2 separate regions of the Homo sapiens genome follow, and region 2 is linked to region 1. Evidence: promoter capture Hi-C in 16 types of primary human blood cells and fetal thymus (Javierre and others, 2016). All regions are on one chromosome and are shown on one strand. The core of a region is centred on a gene start or on the middle of the fragment in contact, and the rest is flanking DNA. Distances in the headings are between cores, read along the strand shown.

Region 1 (4,841 bases), core at 923-3,422:
GGCAGGCCACAGCAAGGCCTTCAGAGTTTACTTTAAGACAAAAAGCTATTGGAGGGCTCTAAGCAGAGGACTAACATGATCTGAATTTTTTAAAGGATTGCAAAGAGAAACACAAGTTCCTACTCATAAAACAAAGATGTATCTCTCATAATCTAGTTATAAGTCAAAGAAAAAAAGCATAGAATAAAAGTTGTGTAGTATGATAGCATTTTTGTAAGAAAAAACACGTATACATGGGAACAAGGCTAAAAGGCTTAATACCAAATTGTGATTTACTATGGTTTGTGGGATTATGGGGTTTTTTTTGTTTTGTTTTGTTTGCAATGCTTTTCTTTGTTTTTCAAGTTTTCTGCCTTAAACATGAATTACTTTGGTAATTTTTAATGTTATCTTTAAAAAGAAAAAAGCACTCCACCATGAGACTTCCCTTGTCTGAAATCTTACTTCAATATGAAAAAAAAAAAAACAAACTCAAAACCAAAAACCAAAACAACATGGGGAACATTTTTTTCCAAAAATTACCACACTTCCCATGCAATGTTTGCCTGTCATGAACCACTGCACAAATCAAGCCCCGCTCAATGTATCAAGGTCACAAAACCAACTTGGTTAATATGTTGATCATTACATAGTGGCTCTGTCCTCTACAGCAACTTTGATACCATCTTTCCAAGGCAGCAACAGAAGGGCCCTTTTCATTCATTTTCTATGTGTCTTTGATACTATTTTGCGCTTCTGGATTTTTCCACTGTATGTCTCTTAGAAACAAATTAAGCTCGAATAAGTTGTTCCAGCTAATGAAGTGCGCTTTTGGCTCCTTCTCCGTGGTTCAGAATTATCCGGCAAAATACCAATTGTTTTAGGATGCATTTTCTCTTAGTTTTGAAATATTGCAATACTAAGTTACCACAAATAAAGAGCATTGAGATAACAACACACAAGAACGTGTATAAATGGAAACTACTGTAATCCTTTTTTAAATTAAGGACGTGTGGACGCCTCATGAATAAACATTTAGGATATCTGGATAAATATATACTATGTGTTCACATAGATAAAAACAGAAAGGAGCATTCCTTCCTACCTCACTCCCCCACCCCAAGTCACATAAGTTTCTCGCAGGGCACAAGCCCAGGGCAATCACTGCTCAGAAATGTAAACCATGCAACTCAAAATGACTCAAGCCCTCAAACACTCCCCACCTAAGTCCTACATCCCATCCACTCCTCAATCACTTCCAACAGGCTTCCCTGAATGAAAATCCCAAACTGGGAAGGCTTAACAAGCTCCAAACTCCACTCACACGCCACTCAGGGAATCCGAGGACCTGGGGCCCACGTGTAGTGTTTTCGCGTGGGCAGACAAGGGTCCCAAGATTCAGGGTGCTACTGTACCCCGAGTGGTTCGAGTCCTGGCTCTGCCGCCTTCACTGGTCGAGCTGACGCTCTTTACACCGGGGGCATGGGCTGCCACATCCCAGCAGAGTGCAAGGGCCCTCGGGCGTGGACGCAGGCGGCTCTCGGGTGCACACGCGGAACGCACACTCGGGCATGCACTCTCACACGGTCAGGCGGGCCTGCGCGAACGCCCCCGCTTCCCCTCTACCACCCCCTTTTGCGCCTTCTACGATGGTGGCACGCGGGGCTACCCTGACCCCTAGGACCCCTGGACGCCCGCTCCTGGAGCCCGGGGGGTGATGACAGATGGCGGAGGGCGGGGCTCCGGGGGGAAGGGGCGGAGCCTCTCAGCATGGGGGTGCTGGCGGCTGACAGAAAGACCAGGGGCAGCCGGCGGGAGGGGGCTGACTGAGACTGCGGGCCGGCCGCGGGCCAGGCGTGGCGGGAAGGAGCTCGCGCAGACACAGGGTCTGACAGGCAGAGAGAGATACAGACACCGGGGACTGACAGCCGCGGGGGCACGCGGGGCCGGCTGGCCGTGGCGGGCGCTCACCTGGCAGCGGCGGCGGTGGCGGCGCCCGCGACCGGGCCGCTCTTCCCGCGCTGCGGGCCTCCCTCCCCGCGGCCGGGCGGGCGGCCGGCGCAGGCCCCGCAGAGGCGGCGGCGGCGGCGACGCCGGAGCCGCGGACTGCTGAGCGGCGGGGACGCAGCTGCACCAACCGACTCCGGGCCGCTCGGCTGGGCTCGGCCGCTCTCGGAGGCGCTCGGCTCTGCTCGGCCTTGCACGGCTCCCCTCGGCCTTGCTCGACTCGGCTGGGGGCGTGGCCCAGGCCCCCCAGTCCGCCCAGGTCGCCTCTGGCGGCCGCGGGGCGGGGCTTTCGAGCGGGTGCGAGCCCCCTGACGTCGCGGGGAGCGGACCTTGCCCCCGGCGCATGCGCCAGCACTCCTCCTCCCCCCTCCTCCCCGCCCCACCGTGTGGAGGCTGAAGAAGACGGGGAAGGAGGCGCTGGGGGCGGATGCTGCGGTCCCAGAGGTTCCTGGCTTTTGTACTCCATATCCTGCTCTTTCCAGAGGACCACTTAAAGAAGGTCACACCAGGTTACACTTTCAAAAGGATGTGTGTGTAGGCTGGCAGGGGCTCTCGCTCCTGTCTGCCCCCACTCCTCCAATTCCAGTGTTTCCCAACAAGCGTCGACTAGGAGTGGTCTTTTATCCAACCAAGGGTTCACTGCAATTTTTAATATTTTCTGTTTTCTTAAGAATAATAACAAAAAAACTAACTCTTGATCACTGTTTTAACATTGAGTCTTCAAGTACTTGAACTTTCAAACATCAGTCAGCCTCCTCGAGTCCACTAATACCGTCCTTTCTTCATAGCTGTTGTATAACCTGTAATGCCTGGGATGGGGTTGGGTTCTTTCCTGAATTCTCGTCACATGATCCAGGCACCTTTTTAGTTATGGAACCAAGTCTGCAGCAAATATGCTCAGAAAGTGGCTCCCACCTTTAGAATCCAGTGATTAGTAAACAGCAGGAGCTCTACGGTCTTGACACACCTGGATGGGAATCCCAGATCTGCATTAATCTAGCAGGTTAATAATTGTCTGAGTGACTTTGGACGTGTTAATCTCTCAACTGTAAAAGGGCAATGAAACATGAGTAAATCAGTAGAAATATTAAAAGGGTTAAATGACACCACATATAAAGATTTCTGCACAGTGCTTGGTGTTCAATAAGTAAGGCTGCCTTTAACTTCAAGTAACTTTAGAACCTTCAGATCCTGAAAACCAGGGAGCATATACACAAGTGTGAGCGATGTGTCCAAGTAAACAAGTCGATAGTCAAACACCCATACGTGGCACCTTAGCTTGCTCCTTTCACAACCTTCCCTACCTCAGTTCATGTCAACTCCATTCTTCTGATGACTCCAGACAAACCATTGGAGTCATCCTGGACTCCACTCTCCCTATCATATCCCACATGCAACCCATTAGAAAAGCCTGTCAGCTCTACCTTTAAAATACCCCTTTTCCTCTTTCCTGGAATATTGTAGTAGCCTCCTGCCTGTTCTCCACGATTCCACTGTGCTCTCATGGTGCCTTCTCTCAACACAGAAGCCAGAGGGATCCTGTTGAAACCTAAGCTCAAAAGCCCCCAGAAGGTTTCCCATCTCAGAGTAAAAGCCAAAAAAAAAAAAATATGGGGGCAGTGGGGTGGAGAGTGGGACACAGTCTCACTCTGTCTCCCAGGTTAGAGTGCAGTGGCCCCATCACAGCTCACTGCAGCCTCAACCTCCCAAACTCAAGCAATCCTCCCACCTCAGCCTCCCAGGTAGCTAGGACTACAGGTGCACGCCACCATGCCCACCTATTTTTTTCATTTCCAAAATGTGGTTTTTTTCCCAAAGGCTTCCAAGATCCTATGTGTCTGCCCTTCGTCCACTTATACTCTCCACCTCTCTAACTGCACCTCCTTCCACTCGGCCTCCTCATTGCATGCCAGGCACACTAGCCTCCTTCTTGCTCCTGGAATATGGAGGCTCACTTCTACTTCAGAACCTCTGTACTTGGTGTTGCTTCCTCCAGATATCAGAAAGGCGTGTGCTTTCCAAGTTTCTACTCAAAAGTCACCTCCCCAGACTTTCCCAGACCACTCTACTAAAGTATCAAGTCCCAACTCCAATCACTATCCTCTAAGCCTGCTTTACTTTTCTGCCTAGCCCTTCTAACCTGAATATCATCTATAATATCTCTGAAGGTGGGAACTTTGTTTTTCCCATCTTCAACATCTAGAACATGGGTCGACATGTTCAGGTACTCAATAAGTATTTCTGGGATGAATGAGAATGTATATAGGTTATACTGCTCCAATACAACTTCATTTATTCAACAAACTTTTCTGAGCATCTATTTTGATCCAGGCACAGTGGGATCCTGAGAAAAATGAGGTATTCTCCCGACCTTTGAGGAACAGTATTTCAGAGGAAACAGTCATGTAAAAAAAATACTTCTGGCCGGGCACAGTGGCTCACGCCTGTAATCCCAGCACTTTGGGAGGCTTAGGTGGATGAATCATCTGAGGTCAGGAGTTCGAGACCAGCCTGACCAACATGGTGAAACCCCATCTCTACTCAAAATACAAAAATTAGCCAGGCATAGTGAGGCGCACCTGTAATCCCAGCTACTTGGGAGGCTGAGGCAGGAGAATCACTTGAACCCGGGAAGCACAGGTTGCAGTGAGCGAGTTTGCAGCATTACACTCCAGCCTGGGCAACAAGAGCGAAACTCTGTCTCAAAAACAAACAAACAAAAAACTTCTGGGAGAAAATATGTAACAAAGATGGATGTGCCAACTGCTTTGGGAAGCACAGAGAATAGCATAATTAACAATATACAGGAGAGTGTGGGTAGGCTTCCCAGAAAAGGTGACTTTGGGGCCACATCT
Region 2 (4,809 bases), core at 1,779-4,278, 81 kb before region 1:
AGGCAGACAAGACAGGAATATGTATCATCCTAGGCATAAAGTCCCAAGACATGTCACCTTTTGAAGAATGGAGCCATGTGGCACACTGTCCTCCAGTCCCAAAGGTCTCCTTGAAGAGACATGAAAATCCCACCTGAAGAACTCACCCTTGCAGATTGTACATAGCACAGACCTAAATGGCAACAAACAAGCAAACAAAAAACGCAGTACAGACTAGGCACTGATCTGATGGAAGCGAGACAGGCTGGAGTAGCAAAGGGTCTGACTAAGAAGCTTAGGAGGAATTCCTCTGATACCCTTCTTGGTGCCCCCTCCCCAGCAACATCTAACAGCCTCACTCGGGCCCAACTTCCCTGTTGCACTGGTGGCACTGCATTGCAATTGTGGGTACAAGATTCCTCCCCCACAAAACTGTGGGCTGAGGCAAGAGTTCTACCTTTTTATTACTACGCCTCTGACACTCAGCACATATGAAGCACAAGCAAAATTTGATGACTAAGCTAAGTAATTAGTTCATATGTGTGATTAGGGTTTGAAAGGGCAGAACCTTGGACCTATGATCCCAAATACCTTTGTCTATCTAGTTCACCTGGTTTTGTTCCTCCTCAGAAGCCATCTATCCTCCTTACCTTGGTTCATGTTTTCCTATCTCTCCATTTTATACACATAAACCAACTCCTACCCTCAAATCAGGGAAAAGGGACAGATATTCCTGTCCTCAAGTTAAGAGTGACCTATGTCAAAGTGAAAAACAACTAAGCCAAAAAGGTAACAGGGAACTGGCTTCTTGAGCACTCAGAAGAATTTGAGATTACTGCCTCGCGAGGGAAAAAGGGAAACCCAACCCGATTACAGTGTAAAAATAGGTCACTGCTTGAATACAGCCCTTTGGTTACTGGCTGCAAGCCCCTTTTTGCTTTTGACTCCAGTGTCACAAGAAAGTGGCAGCATAGTCTTAGAATAAGGGCTCCACAGCCAGCTGGCTGCTCGGCCAGGCCTTCCTGCTGGCATTCTAGAAGCAGCATGCAGGGCCAGGCACCTACTGGGGAGCTCAGTAAGCCTTTGTCACTGCTGACATGAAATACAAGAGTTGGTAAGTTTCTTTGGTTTTGTTTTGAACAAACTGGCAGATAGTTCAAGGTTGTCCTTGTAAGTCTCTCTCACTTGCATTCAGCTATACATTGTTTAGTAGGAAATGAGTATAGTTCAGCTAGTTCACTTATCCCCATGCCAAACCAGCAGGCAGCCTCTTTTCCATGAGAGACAGTTATAATTTTGAATTATTGTAATGCTGTACTTGCAGCAAACTCGGTGTGTGTGTGTGTATGTGCACACATGGCTGGGAGTGGGGGGTAGTGCCAAAATGTTGGTTCTATGGCAAACAACAACAACAAAACAAACAAACAAAAAAACCGGCTGTGTATAGCTAAAAAACATGGCCAAGAAAAAGGTAGAATAGAAAACATGTTTTATTATCCTGATACTAAAGCCTGGCAGAGACACAATAAAAAAAGAGAATTTTAGACCAATATCCCTGATGAACATCGATGCAAAAATCCTCAATAAAATACTGGCAAACCGAATCCAGCAGCACATCAAAAAGCTTATCTACCATGACCAAGTTGGCTTCATACCTAGGATGCAAGGCTGGTTCAACATATGCAAATCAATAAATGTAATCCATCATATAAACAGAACCAAAGACAAAAACCACATGATTATCTCAATAGATGCAGAAAAGGCCTTTGACAAAATTCAACAGCCCTTAATGCTAAAAACTCTCAATAAATTAGGTATTGATGGGACGTATCTCAAAATAGTAAGAGCTATCTATGACAAACCCACAGCCAATATCATACTGAATGGCAAAAACTGGAAGCATTCCCTTTGAAAACTGGCACAAGACAGGAATGCCCTCTCTCACCACTCCTATTCAACATAGTGTTGGAAGTTCTGGCCAGGGCAATCAGGCAGGAGAAGGAAATAAAGGGTATTCAATTAGGAAAAGAGGAAGTCAAATTGTCCCTGTTTGCAGATGACATGATTGTATATCTAGAAAACCCCATCATCTCAGCCCAAAATCTCCTTAAGCTGATAAGCAACTTCAGCAAAGTCTCAGCATACAAAATCAATGTGCAAAAATCACAAGCATTCCGATACACCAATAACAGACAAACAGAGAGCCAAATCATGAGTGAACTCCCATTCACAATTGCTTCAAAGAGAATAAAATACCTAGGAATCCAACTAACAAGGGATGTGAAGGACCTCTTCAAGGAGAACTACAGACCACTGCTCAATGAAATAAAAGAGGATACAAACAAATGGAAGAACATTCCATGCTCATGGGTAGGAAGAATCAATATCGTGATAATGGCCATACTGTCCAAGGTAATTTACAGATTCAATGCCAACCCCATCAAGCTACCAATGACTTTCTTCACAGAATTGGAAAAAACTACTTTAAAGGTCATATGGAACCAAAAAAGAGCCCGCATTGCCAAGTCAATCTAAGCCAAAAGAACAAAGCTGGAGGCATCATGCTACCTGACTTCAAACTATACTACAAGGCTACAGTAACCAAAACAGCATGGTACTGGTACCAAAACAGAGATGTAGACCAATGGAACAGAACAGAGCCCTCAGAAATAATGCCACATATCTACAACCATCTGATCTTTGACAAACCTGACAAAAACAAGAAATGGGGGAAGGATTCCCTATTTAATAAACGGTGCTGGGAAAACGGGCTAGCCATATGTAGAAAGCTGAAACTGGATCCCTTCCTTACACCTTATACAAAAATTAATTCAAGATGGATTAAAGACTTAAATGTTAGACGTAAAACCATAAAAACCCTAGAAGAAAACCTAGGCAATACCATTCAGGACATAGGCATGGGCAAGGACTTCATGTCTAAAACACCAAAAGCAATGGCAACAAAAGCCAAAATTGACAAATGGGATCTAATTGAAGAGCTTCTACAAAGCAAAAGAAACTACCATCAGAGTGAACAGGCAACCTACAGAATGGGAGAAAATTTTTGCAATCTACCCATCTGACAAAGGGCTAATATCCAGAATCCACAAAGAACTCAAACAAATTTACAAGAAAAAAACAACCCCATCAACAAGTGGGCAAAGGATATGAACAGACACTTCTCAAAAGAAGACATTTATGCAGCCAAAAGACACATGAAAAAATGCTCATCATCACTGGCTATCAGAGCAATGCAAATCAAAACCACAATGAGATACCATCTCACACCAGTTAGAATGGCAATCATTAAAAAGTCAGGAAACAACAGGTGCTAGAGAGGATCTGGAAAAATAGGAACACTTTTACACTGTTGGGGGGACTGTAAACTAGTTCAACCATTGTGGAAGTCAGTGTGGCGATTCCTCAGGGATCTAGAACTAGAAATGCCATTTGACCCAGCCATCCCATTACTGGGTATATACCCAAAGGATTATAAAACATGCTGCTATAAAGACACATGCACATGTATGTTTATTGCGGCACTATTCACAATAACAAAGACTTGGAACCAACCCAAATGTCCAACAAAGATAGACTGGATTAAGAAAATGTGGCACATATACACCATGGAATACTATGCAGCCATAAAAAATGATGAGTTCATGTCCTTTGTAAGGACATAGATGAAGCTGGAAACCATCATTCTCAGCAAACTATCGCAAGGACAAAAAACCAAACACCGCATGTTCTCACTCATAGGTGGGAATTGAACAATGAGAACACACAGACACAGGAAGGGGAACATCACTCACCAGGGCCTGTTGTGGGGTAGGAGGAGTGGGGAGGGATAGCATTAGGAGATATACTTAATGTTAAATGAAGAGCTAATGGGTGCAGCACACCAACATGGCACATGTATATGTAACAAACCTGCACGTTGTGCACATGTACCCTAAAACTTAAAGTATAATTAAAAAAATAAAATAAAATAAAGAAAATATGTTTTATTAACAAACAGCATATTTTATAATGGCGGTGATCAATATTTATTAAACACAAGGTTCTAGAGGGCTCTTCTGGTAGGATAATTCTAAGAAAGAGGTTCCAGATGTCAACTTACATATTCCCTTATAAAACACAGCCCTGGCTTACACAGTATCTGGTGTACATGTCTCTTCTCTCCAATGAACTATAAGATCTTTGAGGTAAGGGTTCAGTGCTGCACCACTCAGCTACACTAATGGCAATGTGCACACAGTGAGCACTCATTAAATACATCAGTTACAGTTCACTTGCAGTTGCTTGCTTACTACCAAAAACCGGGGTCAATCATTATAAGCATTCCCATCCAACACCCAATTTGTTGCATGGGGAATGAACTTCAGTTTGGGTCCCTTGCTATTAAAGCACTCAATACCCATTATTTGTTTGCATTTATGTCGAACTCATAGATGCAGGATCTGAAAAGTTAAATGAAGCTTAACATAGGCATCCAAATAAAATTAATTAGAATTTATATCTCAACTATTTCTAACAGAGTTTGAGTAACAAGACTCAACAGAAGGAAAACAGGGTAATAACAGAGACTAAGAGGGAAAAAAAGGAAGGCAGCAGGGAGTGAAGGCTGGAGAAGAGAAGAAGGAAGGAAAAGAAGGAGGGACAGAGGGTGGAAACATCTATCTAAGCAAGAGCTTCTTCCTCAAGTCAAAAATTTCTGCAAAAAACAACATCTTTTTGGACAAATTTACATGATGCTTCTAACATCTGCTCATTGTGAAAAATGCAGGATAAAAACCTACAAATTCAGTATTTTTAGTATTTTTATCTAAA

What was found. The method cuts DNA at HindIII sites, captures the fragments that hold promoters and counts their contacts. A CHiCAGO score of 5 or more calls a contact.
Region 2: a fragment that was not itself captured here is called in contact with the fragment with the promoter of ZHX3 in region 1 in 9 of 17 cell types (naive CD4 T cells, naive CD8 T cells, total CD8 T cells and 6 more); the score reaches 11.2 in naive CD4 T cells.

What each region holds. Positions count from the first base shown.
Region 1 is chr20:41,315,559-41,320,399 of GRCh38, forward strand. It overlaps ZHX3 (zinc fingers and homeoboxes 3), which reads right to left and starts at 2,173. Exons shown (of 4, transcript NM_001384317.1): 1 at 1,951-2,173. RefSeq lists silencers at 1,693-1,982, 1,993-2,442 and an enhancer at 2,553-2,602. The HindIII fragment of the contact is 7,702 bases long and covers 1-4,841 here.
Region 2 is chr20:41,233,810-41,238,618 of GRCh38, forward strand. All of the region lies in intron 2 of ZHX3 (zinc fingers and homeoboxes 3), which reads right to left. Among named protein-coding and RNA genes, the nearest start is that of MIR6871, 67 kb to the left of the region's middle. The HindIII fragment of the contact is 2,854 bases long and covers 1,602-4,455 here.